Linked DNA regions of Homo sapiens: region 1 is linked to region 2. The links are contacts of gene promoters, found by promoter capture Hi-C in blood cells and fetal thymus (Javierre and others, 2016). All regions are on one chromosome and are shown on one strand. Each heading gives the region's core, a stretch centred on a gene start or on the middle of the fragment in contact. The rest is flanking DNA. Distances are from core to core; before and after follow the strand shown.

Region 1 (5,852 bases), core at 438-2,937, 1.1 Mb before region 2:
AATAAACGCATCTTGGTGTCTGATTCTGCATACATCTGTAGAGAATTTGAAAACAAGCAGTCAATTTAGAACTTCTGCTTGGTCTTCGGAAGCAAAAAGAGGAAATTCAAAAGTAATTTTACACGTCCTTCCACCAGAAGCTGAAAGGATGGCTTTTTCGCGGCTGAATAACGAAAGCCCCCTGCTTCGCCCCGGACTCTGAGCAGCTCAACCTGCGGAAAGGATGTGTAATAAAACGCCTTTCCAGGGAGACAAAAAAAAAAAAGGCCACCCAAAGGAAGGGCAACTCGGGAGTGCCTGGTTTCTACTGCGGTACCCGGGCACTTTGGAAGAAAGTGCGTGCAGATTCAAGCTTTTGAAATGGTTTCAGCTCTGTTCAATTGGGCATAGGCTATTTTTCCTTTTCTGTTTTTTTCTTTAAATACATTATATTCATTCCTCTCAATTTGATAATAATCACTTGAGAATTGCGAATTGACACTTACATATCAAGGACTTTACAAAACCCTCTCCAAAGTGGGGTTTCCGTAGTGTAGTGGTTATCACGTTCGCCTAACACGCGAAAGGTCCCCGGTTCGAAACCGGGCGGAAACACACTAAAAAATCCCTTTTTTTTTTTTTTTTTTTTTCCTTCGCTTGGAAGAAAGCGTGAGATCACGCTTTGTTTTCTTTTGTTGTTTGTTTTGTTTTTTTTTCTGAGGGAAGCCTTAGCTTAATGTATGCCGGTCCTTCAAAAGACATGATAGCAATTTGAGAGTCTGAACTGTAAGTTTTTGTTACTTTATTCGTTCACCAAATGTTTTTATGGAAGCCTTGCCACGTGGAACATGTGTCCCGGGTTTTAAAAAATGAATTTGACTCACCAGCTAACACTGAAAAAATAATGTACAGCCTAGAAGGAAAGATCAAAGTGTAAAAGTGGTTAGTCCTGTCGCCTCCTGAGCATTTTTGTATTATATCACTTGGTTTTTCGTCTGAAGTGGCTGTAAATAATCGTATTAAAAATCTTCTGGTCCAGACGCAGGAAAACCTTTTCCGGTATAAAGCCCACCTTCCTCTAATGTTGCGCATGCCCACTGTGCCCAGCTGCTCCGCTTTCGTGCATCCCAGACTTCTGTCACCAGGTAAGGGCATCTTGGAAGCTGAGCTACAGTTGGCTGGGGCACAAAAAAACCAGGGGGTGCCAAGAGTTTTCAGGTACGTAAGCGGGAAAGGGGTGCCAAGTCTCAGCTAAAAAATCCCCTATGGCAGAGATCCGAGTACACATGCAGCAGTTTCCACCGGTGGGGCCCCGAGGAAGGGGAGGATGATGGGAGAAGACAAGCAACTACAAGCCCCCGCACGCAGTGCGCAGCTGGCTTCAGGAGAGAGGCCCGCGGTGCTGTGCTGCCGGGCCTCGGCGCAGAGCCCCGGCAGAGCGCCAGACGCTGACTGCCGGCACCAGAATGCTCGCGATGAGGAAGACAGGCGGAGCGCTGCGAGCTAGCGAGCCCTCAGCTCTCGTATCCATGACGCCTGCTGCTTCGGGGGACCCCTGGCATGCTGGGGAGTGGGTCTCTGTGGTACATCCTGTACCGCCCTGGCCGGCGCCGGACCCCCATGGCCCCAGAACCTCCCGCACTGCCACGGGAAGACAGAGCCGGACGTGACGCCACCGTGGAAGGAAGGGAGGGGCGGAGCGTGGCTCGGTGACGTCCTCCCAAGATGGCGGAGACAGAGTGAAGAAACTGTGTTCCCCCCTTGGGTTGCTATCGGTGAGTTCCTACTTCACCCCCAGCCCGCCATCCCGGTCTCTCTAGAGCCTGGGCCATCAGAGGGCAGGCTCCTTGGAGTTCCAGCACGGGTCGGGGCGCAGGTGGAAGGCTTGGGCTAGGCAGCCCCGGGGTGGCCTGGGCCACAACCTCTGCTGTGGAAATTCGCGGGAGTGGGAGCTGGGCAGAGGGCAGGGCGGCAGAAGCCGAGGAGGGACTGGCTTTGGTTGTCACTCTCGGATGCCGCCTCGCGTAGAGAGTGGGAAGGGAGAAGGTGTGGCCTCCTTAGCGCGAGTGATAGAACCTTTGACAGCAAGCCATGGCCGGGCGCATTCCCGGCTTTCTGGGCAGCCACCTCTCGTTTTGGAGAAACTGCACTGGGGAAACTAACAGGTTTTGGTGACTTGAGAGCAGTTTTTAAAAACTCGTACTGTTCTGCCCCTATCTGTCCCAAGAGATCATGTCTTAGTGGTTTAAAAAATTTTTTTGTAACATAAGTATGTCTACTGAGCTTGAAAATCTGAGGGTTCAACAGATGTGAAAGCGTCAGGTTTTGCTGTGCTTTTTGCAGGTGGTAGAAGTGTTGCCATTCACCGTCACTTATTGATGTGTCCAAAGGATTGTGTTAGTTGATCAAGGTAACCAAAGATAGAAAGGCACTCATCCCTTCATTCTTAACCATGTATGTTTGATAAGGATTTTCAAGGGGGCTAAAATTGTTTAAGTTATGTCCTCTGTCCCTTCCCTCACTGAACGTTGATGAGAACTTACGGTTACTGATTTACTGTTTCTTTTTGTCTTTTAGATCAAGGGTAAAATTCCATTCTGATATCAAAATGCAGTATTCGCACCACTGTGAGCACCTTTTAGAGAGACTGAACAAACAGCGGGAAGCAGGTTTTCTCTGTGACTGTACCATAGTGATTGGGGAATTCCAGTTTAAAGCTCATAGGAATGTGCTGGCCTCCTTTAGTGAGTATTTTGGTGCGATCTACAGAAGCACTTCTGAGAACAATGTCTTTCTTGATCAGAGTCAGGTGAAGGCTGATGGATTTCAGAAACTGTTGGAGTTTATATACACAGGAACTTTAAATCTTGACAGGTAAAGTACACATTTTATTTTCAGTTATAAAAGCTAGTCAGTAGTCTTCACAGCAAAAGTAGATTTGTATTTTTTCCATTCATTCTCTGAACTCAAATTCTTCACCTATTTATGCACACAATGTTTGTTTTTATAAAGAAATCAGTATCACTGATTTAGGATGAGCAGGCAATATTTTTCATAAGCACAGATAATAAACAGTAAGATTTCTGACACGTTTATTTACTGAAACAAAGCCTGTGATTTCACTTATGTAAACTTGAACATTAAACACAATGAATTTATTTTATTTTATTTTTGAGACGGGCTCACCGTCACCCAGGCTGGAGTGCAGTGGGGCAATCTCGGCTCACTGCAACCTCTGCCTCCCGGGTTCAAGCGATTCTCCCACCTCAGCCTCCCTAGTAACTGGGACTACAGGTGTGCACTACCACACCTGGCTAATTTTTGTATTTTTTGGTAGAGACAGGGTTTCACCATGCTGGCCAGGCTGCAAACAAAAAATTCTAAGTTACTTCCAGTTTCCCATTGCTTTTTGGTCCTTGAATTCCTCTGGTCTTCTGTCTCCCTCATTCTGACTCCTGTTATCTCTATTAACCTACCAGTACTAATACTGAAGTAAGGTCAGAGATGCTAGAATGATTCTCTAAGATGCTTACTGATGTCACTGCATTAACAAGAAGTGGGTTCTGAGGAATCTGATAATGTAGGCACTGTGTGTCTCCCCTGTATAACGAACCATATAATTAGATTAATATCAATACATTTACAGATTGTAGGGGAAAAGGTGGAGGGAATAAAAGCAAAGAGAAACTGATTAAATTACCCCTGTCTTATTTCTGTCTCTCTTATGAAAGTGAACATGAATAGACTGTTCATAATCTTCTGACACAGGAAGATTATAGGCTTTGGAATTAGATCTTTCCTGTCAGTCGCTATGTCTCCTTGAGCATGATGCAATCTCTCTGGGCCTCAGTTTCCCCATCTGTCAAAATGAGATGGTAATAACTACCTTGAGGCTAAATAAGGTTTTACTTGATCCTTATTCACTTCCCACTGAACGTTAATTTCTTTATTTTTCTTCTTTACCCTCTCCTCCCCCTTTAATTCCACATTTCTCGGAGAAAAAATAGAAAAAACAAAAAAGAAACACCTGAAATACTGCTGCCCACTGATAACCCCTGTTAACCTTTTGATATATATTAATTAATTCTTTTCCAGATCTCTGTAGAGATGTGCATGTATACATTAAGCAAAATCTTTCCCTCCCTTTTATATTGTAACTTATCATGGAAATATACTTATTTAAAAATCTAGAATCAGGGTGCTCATTAATCCTTTTGACGAGGAAACATTCTTGTGTAAGAAGTATCCAGTGGGGGGAGGGGAGGGAGAGAAAAGTAAACTTTCATGCTATTTTGGAATTATTTTTAAATTTTGGTATAATGAAATCTTCAAGTGAGTTCTTTATAAGTTGATTAAAGGAAAAGAGCAGTGTGAATTTTGGCTGGCCTGCAATTTAATGGTTTCCCTTTCTCTCAATTAACTATGCAAAACAAAAAAATCTTCATTTGAATACACGGTAGAGCACTTTTCTTTGAGACTTCATGCAAAGAACCAATGTGAAGAACAGCCAGGTGTTTTGTTCAGTCTCTTTTGGTACATATCTTTCCTGGAGACTGGGGAGCTAATTCCTCGAGTTCAGCTAGAAATGTAAGAGAGGATTTATACCAAAATAGAAAGGCTTACAACTTAGTGATTAAGAAAACAGGTAGAATATATTAAGTTGGCTCAGGGGCCAGATTACCTTGGTCAAATCTTGGTTCTAACATTCTGTGCTCTTGGACAGGTTACTTTATTTCTTTGGACTTCTGATTTTTCACTTGTGTGTAAAATGAGGATTATAATAGATTTCATAGGCATGTCCTGAGGATAATCTTATAAAGCATTTAGGCATGTACCTGGCAATATGTAATTAAATGACCTTCAGTGACTGTTCAGAGGATGTTATCTAATACTTGTAAACAAAAGCAAATCTGTTATTGAAGTATTGATTGGTGCTCTTAACTGTGACTGAGATTATAGCCATCTATGAAATAGTTTGTATGAATTACCATTTCAATGTTGAACAAATTTTTTTTTTTTTTTTTTTTTTTTTTTGAGATGGAGTCTCACTCTGTCACCCAGGCTGGAGTGCAATGGCGTGATCTCGGCTCACTGCAACCTCCACCTCCCAGGTTCAAGGGATTCTCCTGCCTCAGCCTCCCGAGTAGCTGGAATTACAGGCACCCGCCATCATGCCCAGCTAATTTTTGTATTTTGTAGATACGGGGTTTTACCATGTTGGCCAGGCTGGTCTTGAACTCCTGACCTCAGGTGATGCGCCCACCTTGGCCTTACAGGCATAAGCAACTGCACCCGGCCTTGAACAATTAATGTATGACTTCCTGCTAACTTATATTGGTCTTAAAGGCTACCTGACCTTGTTATCTGTTTGGCGGTTTATTTTATGGAGCACTAAACACAATTAGAGACCAAAAGATCTTTTTTAGTGGCCCAGCCCAAAAGACAATTTTTAGAAAGCTGTTGTGATGCTAAATTAAATAAGGGGAAACATACAGGTGGCACTTGAGGCAAAGCAAGTTTAATTAGAAGATGATGAGAACATGGGTAGAGATTTGTAGATACTGTAGCATACTTTTAGAGATCTTAGAGGTTCATGACACTAGTTATTTTTTATTTTATTTCAAATTTTAGTCCTTTAAAATAGTATCACCAGCACTATATTTACATTGTCAGCTATGATTAAAACCCTTTTCTGGCTTATACTTACAACAGAGAGGGAAAGAGATCATCTTCCCAAAGATAAACCATATTTAGGGAAAAAAATCAAGTAGGAAGATTATTTGAGGGTAAGGGGTGTGTGTGTGTGTGTGTGTGTTTCCATCCTCAAATACTTATAACAGTCATGTTTTTAGTGTTAACACCAACTCAACTCT
Region 2 (6,383 bases), core at 24-2,523:
GCCAGCCTGGCCAACATGGTGAAACCCCATCTCTAGTAAAAATACAAAAATTAGCCAGGTGTGGTGGTGCATGCTTATAATCCTAGCTATTCAGGAGGCTGAGTCGGGAGGATTGCTTGAACCCGGGAGGCGGAGGTTGTAGTGAGCCTGATCATGCCACTATACTCCCACCTGGGCAACAGACTCTGTCTCAAAAAAAAAAAAAAACCTAAAAACCAACACCGTGGAACTTAAATTTTCCATATCCAAACCTTTTATACCAAGACCATATAATATGGCTACATAAGCAAAATGTTACTGTGGCCAGCAACCATGTACATTCACTGCAATATGAACAAACAAATCTGTATTTATCAGACTATAACCTCCAATTTAGATTCACCCAAGTGGCTACCAAGTATTACACATTAGTTTGCTTTCTCAGGTAGCATGGTAACATGTGCCAAAAGATAATTACCCAGTTGGCGCAGAAGTTAATTTGGGAGACACAAACAACTTCTGTCTAATGGAACAGATAACCCTATAGGGTTTATGGCCATGCTGGGCATTACCCAGTTTTGTAGCTAGCCCAGCAATTTTATCCTAACTTTATTTGTAAATTGCGCATGTATATCTAGCTTTTCAGATATTCTTAGGAACATTTTAACATCTTACTGGTTCCCTTACTAATGACTTAAGTAAAACATCTGAAGCACGTTTATTTCACATTGCTGGAATCTAGACTTATACTTTTCTAAAAATTACTTCACCGAGAAACTTCTTCCCCAACTGAAAGTTCTCAAAAACTTGTGATGTCGGCCATCGCGGGAGCTGAGCGCCTAGGAGCTCCCTCTGGCCTGGCAAAGGTCGTCAGACCGGCCCGATTACCCACCATTCCCCTACCCAGTGCTGAGTGGCAAAAGCATTATCAGGCGCGAGATAGTAAAGAAATGGCTCAGATTGCAGTACCACCGGCCCATTTACAGTTGTGCCTCCCTCTTTCCCGCGTGTCCAAAACCACCCATCCTAAACCAATTCCGGGCCCAGCTCCAACTCCACTAGACCTCATGGCAGCTGCCAGGGAGTCTCGAAAAACAGTTCAGGATCCTCGCGTCTTGGTTGTGTTTCTGACCCAGACTTCACTACTCCCCTCCCTTTATCTTGACTGAGACGTCTCCACTCGACAGATGCAAAAATCGTTACAGCGGAAATCATTAAATTGCCACACAACACTCCCACCAAGACATCGCTCACTCACCGGCGCCATCTTGCGAGTCGGCCGCGAGAGCAGAGAGGAAGCTACGGCCGCGCGGTCTGCATTTATATCAAAGCGTGCTGCGTCACGCGCTGAGAGCGTCAGATTGTCGCCTCCCGGAAAAGAAAGCGGGAGGAGCGCTGAGGCCGGTAACCCAGGAAACCAGTGCGCTGCCGGACGAGAGTAGGCCATCGGCTTTCCGCGGGCACACGCGGGTGGCTGTGGTTGAACTGACTCTCGGGTTTCCGCTCCTGGCTGTTCAAGCCGATTAATTGCAGTGGCCTCTACAGTTACCTAGTGGCTGCTCCCGGATACGGACGCACGCGAGGGATGCAGGAGTCATCTTTCACTAATCACCGGAATCCCCTTTCCAATCAGGGCAAGGCAGTGTCTCAGGTTGCTTTGGGATCTCCTTTTATTGCAGTTATAATCCTCCAGCGAAAAAGTTATTTGTTTGTGTTTTGTCTGTGAGCCTCGTTTTCTAAATGACTGTTGAGGGAAATTGGTGCTTCGGGGACCAGGTCCTCGGGAAAAAAAAATCATGTATATATATGCTTACACGCCCACGCCTGTAATCCCAGCACTTTGGGAGGCCGAGGCCGGAGAATCTCTTGAGCCCAGGAGTTCGAGACCACCCTTGGCAGCGTAGGCATAGGGAGAACCCGTCTCTACAAACAATTTTAAAAAAAATGGCCCGCGTGGTGGTGCGCGTCTGTACTCCCAGCCACTCGGGAGGCTGAGGCAGGAGCATCGCTTTACCTTGAGAGGCGGAAGTTGCAGTGAGTCGAGATCGAGCCACTGCACTCCAGCCTGGGTAACAGTGAGACTGTCTCAAAGGGAAAAACACGTAGTGCTTGCTTCTTGTTCATTCGTTTGGTATAATTTATCATGGGTTTTACAGTTAATCCCAGGTCTCTTGATTTCCATCCAAAATGCTCCCAGTTAAAATTCAATGAATGTTTGCTGTGACCTATCAGTATGTACAAGACACACGAGGGTGGAAGTGTCTTGCTGACAAAAGGAAAAAGTAGCTTTTGAGCTTTGAAGGATTGTAAATTGACATCAGATCCGAAAAGTGGCATGCTGAACCGCTTGGGTTTAGCAGTAATATGTTTTCGTGGAGATGAAATTATCATACCTAGGGGTAGGGGTAAGGGATGGGGTGGACTTTGTTGTTAATTTGAAGAATGACCCCAGAAAGTAAGAACTGTTCGTGGCCTTTATGCCAGCAAGTAGTTATCGTGGAAACTATGCTTTAATAGAGCATATGACTTGTAGAGTCTGAAGAGAGGCCCTGAATTCCTAGAAGAAATCCATTTCAACAAGATTTTTTAGTTGTCTGCCTTAAGAGCTACAATAATCACATTTCTCTTTCCAAACATTAAAGGGAGCAATTGGCATTTCCTCCTCAAGGGCTGCCTAAGCTGAGGGGCAGAAATGATTCTATTTTGCTTGTCTTTAGCAGTCTTCCATGTCTTGACAATAAACTCCTTAAGCACTATTAAGCCATTTGTACAAGGAGGATATGGAAACATACCTGTTTCACAAGAACTAGTAATCACCAAATAACTAGTTAGAAACTGTAATGGGGGAAAAATGTTTGTCAATTAGAAAAAAAAACAAGAATATTAGCGAGAAATGTGCAGATGGGAAGACTAAAAGTTGTAAATAATTCAGTTCTTCCCAAACTGTGCGTGTGCACACGTATATAGTAACACAATGCTAGTCAATACCCTATAGTTATTTTTTAAAAATTTGACAGCTAATTAAAAAAATTTTAACATTTATTTTAGATTCAGAGGGTACATGTACAGTTTTGTTACATGAATATATATAATGATGGTGGGGTTGGGGTGCGATTGATCCCTTCACCCAGGTAGTGAAAATAGTACCCAATAATTAGATTTTCAACCCTTCCCCACTTCTAGTATTCCCAGTGTCTATTTTTGCCATCTTCATGCCCATGAGTATCCAATGTTTAGTTCCCACTTACAAGTGAGAAGTACAGTATTTGATTTTCTGTTCCTGCATTAATTCGCCTAGGATAATGGCCTCCAGCTGCAGCCATGTTGCTGCAAAGTATGTGATTTTGTTCTTTATGGCTTGTGTTGACAGCTAATTCTAAAACGTATGACACAATAAATGTCTGAAAAGAGCCAAGACACTCTAGACCAATGAAAGGGAGTATGCCTTTCCAGCTCTTCCAATATAAGATATAATAGATGATAGATATGTATTTAATATATTATAAACTTCAGTCATTGGATCTACATGATGCTGAAGCCTTAGTAAACAGATCAGTAAGCAAAAAAACACAGAAAAACCCCTCCATATGTAACTACCTTACCAATGGCTAAAATATAGTTTTATTTTTATGTATGCATTTATTTATTTTTTAGAGACATAGTCTTGCTCTGTCGCCTAGGCTGGAGTGCAGTGGCGCAATCTCAGCTCACTGCAACCTCCGCCTCCCTGGTTCAAGCAATTCTCCTGCTTCAGCCTCCCAAGTAGCTGGGATTACAGGCGCTTACCACCAGGTATGGCTAATTTTTCTATTTTTACTAGGGTTTTCGCCATGTTGACCAGACTGGTTTCGAACTCTTGGCCTCAACTGATCCGCCCACCTTGGCCTCCCAAAGTGCTGGGGTTACAGGTGTGAGCCATTGTGCCCGGCCTAAAATACAGTTTTATAAATAATTTTTTAATGTATGGTTGAGCTGGTGGAAAAGTAAAATAATTTTTAGGGGCAGAAATGACAAGCAATGATCATACATGTTTGGAACTTGAATTAGCTCTGCTCAGATAGCATGAAAAAGCTCCAAACTGAATATGTAGTTTAAAGTGTGCTTGTATTATTAACACCAGACAGAAGCAAGGGCAAATACTCTCTGGAGAAATGCATTTTAGATCCAGGTACAAATAATTCCCTGAGATAAGCTTCAAGAAATATGAGCTGACAGGTTTTGTTTTGTTTTGTTGAGATGGAGTCTTGTTCTGTCGCCAGGCTGGAGTGCAGTGGCAAGATCTCAGCTCACTGCAACTTCTGCCTCCAGGGTTCAAGTGATTCTCCTGCCTCAGCCTCTCGAGTAGCTGGGACGACAGGCGCACCACCATGCCAGCTAATTTTTGTATTTTTAGTAGAGACGGGGTTTCACCATGTTGGCCAGGATGGTCTCGATCTCTTGACCTCGTGATCTGCCCGCCTTGGCTTCCCAAAGTGCTGGGATTACAGGTGTGAGCCACCGTGCCCGGCAGAGCTGACAGTTTTTTAAAATCATGAAAATACAGGAAAACAAGCCACCGTGGATGAAAATCAACATCAAAAACCTATGAAATCAGACTCACAGAGACTTTATATGTTGGAATTATGAAATGCAGAATATAAAATAAGTATTTGTAGTATATGCAAAAACTAAAAGTATTTAGGATATGATAAGGAAGTCAGAGACAATCAAAATTGATCAGATTTTTTTTTTTTTTTTGAAAAACAGCAAAAGGAGACCGGGCACGGTGGCTCAAGCCTGTAATCCCAGCAGTTTGGGAGGCTGAGGTAGGCAGATCACTTGAGGTTAGGAGTTCGAGACCACCCTGGCCAACATAGAGAAACCCCCGTCTCTACTAAAAATACAAAAATTAGCTGGGTGTGGTGGTGATGCCTGTAGTCTCAACTACTTGGGAAGCTGAGGCAGGGGAATCACTTGAACTGGGGAGGTGGAGGTTGCAGTGAGCTGAGATCATGCCATTACACTCCAGCCTGGGCAACAGAGCAAGACTCCGTCTCAAAAAAAAAAAAAACAAAAAAACAAAAGAGAACATTTAGACATTAAAAAGAGAAAAACTGAAATTAGAAAAAGTAGATGAGTTAAACAAGAGAGTAAACAGCTGAAGAGAAATCAGTGAGTGGGAAATTACTTAGAATGCAATGTGGAAAAGCAAATAGATGTAAGGTATAAAAAACAGGTTAAGAGACCAGGATGTCAGAATAAAAGTTTTCTGGATATGTCAACCAGGAGATCCAGAAGGATGTAATAGAGACAATGGGGAAATGGCAAAATCTAGAGAGATAATGGCTGAATTTCCAGATACAGGAATCCCCAAGAGGGATAATTTTAAAGAAATGCACACCTATATACATTGTAGTGAAACTTCAAAACACAAAGTCATTTCAAAAGCACCCAGAGAAGGAAAAGACAAAATATTTACTAAATGACTTATACTAATAGCTGACTTTCCATCTGCAACAATGGAAGCCGGAGGCAAAGGAATATTATCTGCAGAGCACTGTGAGAAAATAACTGTCTACCTAGAGCTACAAAAAACAAAACAAAACCAAGAATACATTTCAAGAGTAAAGATGCATTTATGACATTTTTAGGCCACAAAGCTGAAAGTTTGCCATCAAGAGCTCTTCAGTAAAGGAATTCTGAAAGATATACTTTAGGAAGAAGGAAAATGACCCTAGAAAGAAGGCTTATATGTCAAAAGAAATGGTGAGCAAAGAAAATAGCAAACTTGTGAGTAAATCTAAACAACTACTAACTGTAGACAATAGTAATAATTATGTCTAATTTGTGGGTTCACAGAACTTTTTTAAAAAACTCAATATCATAGGCAGATTATGTACTGTTAATGTTGTATTTCTTCATCTTGGTGATATTTACATGGGTATGTTTACTTTGTGAAGACTCATCAAGCTGTAAATTATAATCTGTTCATTTTTTCTGTATATATGTTATAATTCAATTAATAGTAATAAGATAGTATAAACTACCACTTGCCAATATATGGCAAATTAGATAAAATGAGCAAATTCCTAGAAAAATACAGTTTATCAGAATGTACACAAGAAGAAATAGAATATCTGAATAGTCCTATATCTTTTAAATAAATTGCATTTGTAATTAAAACCTTCCCACAAAAAAACCATAGGCAGATTATATACTGTTCATGTTTTAGCAGTGAATTCTACCAAACAATTGAGGAAGAAACAATGCCAGTTGTAACAATTTTATGCCAAAACTCACATTCTGCCAGTTTACCTTTTAATTCAGGGCAGGGGAGAATTTATCTACAGCTTCCTGTCCCCTGCTGATAAATGTTTGTCTTTGGCTTGTTAACTCCCTTGCATTTTCAGGTTGTAAATATATAA

Evidence for each region. Contacts are between HindIII fragments. The CHiCAGO score rates a contact against its expected background, and 5 or more counts as called.
Region 1: the fragment with the promoter of MYNN here is called in contact with the fragment with the promoter of RPL22L1 in region 2 in 1 of 17 cell types (neutrophils); the score reaches 7.0 in neutrophils.

Annotation. Positions count from the first base shown.
Region 1 is chr3:169,771,709-169,777,560 of GRCh38, forward strand. It overlaps MYNN (myoneurin), which reads left to right and starts at 1,688. Exons shown (of 8, transcript NM_018657.5): 1 at 1,688-1,754; 2 at 2,557-2,853. The coding sequence starts at 2,588. It overlaps TRV-AAC1-1 (tRNA-Val (anticodon AAC) 1-1), which reads left to right and starts at 522; the gene lies at 522-594. RefSeq lists enhancers at 238-337, 1,228-1,777, 1,351-1,854, 1,493-1,787. The HindIII fragment of the contact is 7,916 bases long and covers 351-5,852 here.
Region 2 is chr3:170,868,922-170,875,304 of GRCh38, forward strand. RPL22L1 (ribosomal protein L22 like 1) reads right to left here and starts at 1,274. Exons shown (of 4, transcript NM_001099645.2): 1 at 1,238-1,274. The coding sequence starts at 1,246. RefSeq lists enhancers at 767-816, 986-1,712, 1,713-2,438. The HindIII fragment of the contact is 15,380 bases long and covers 1-4,169 here.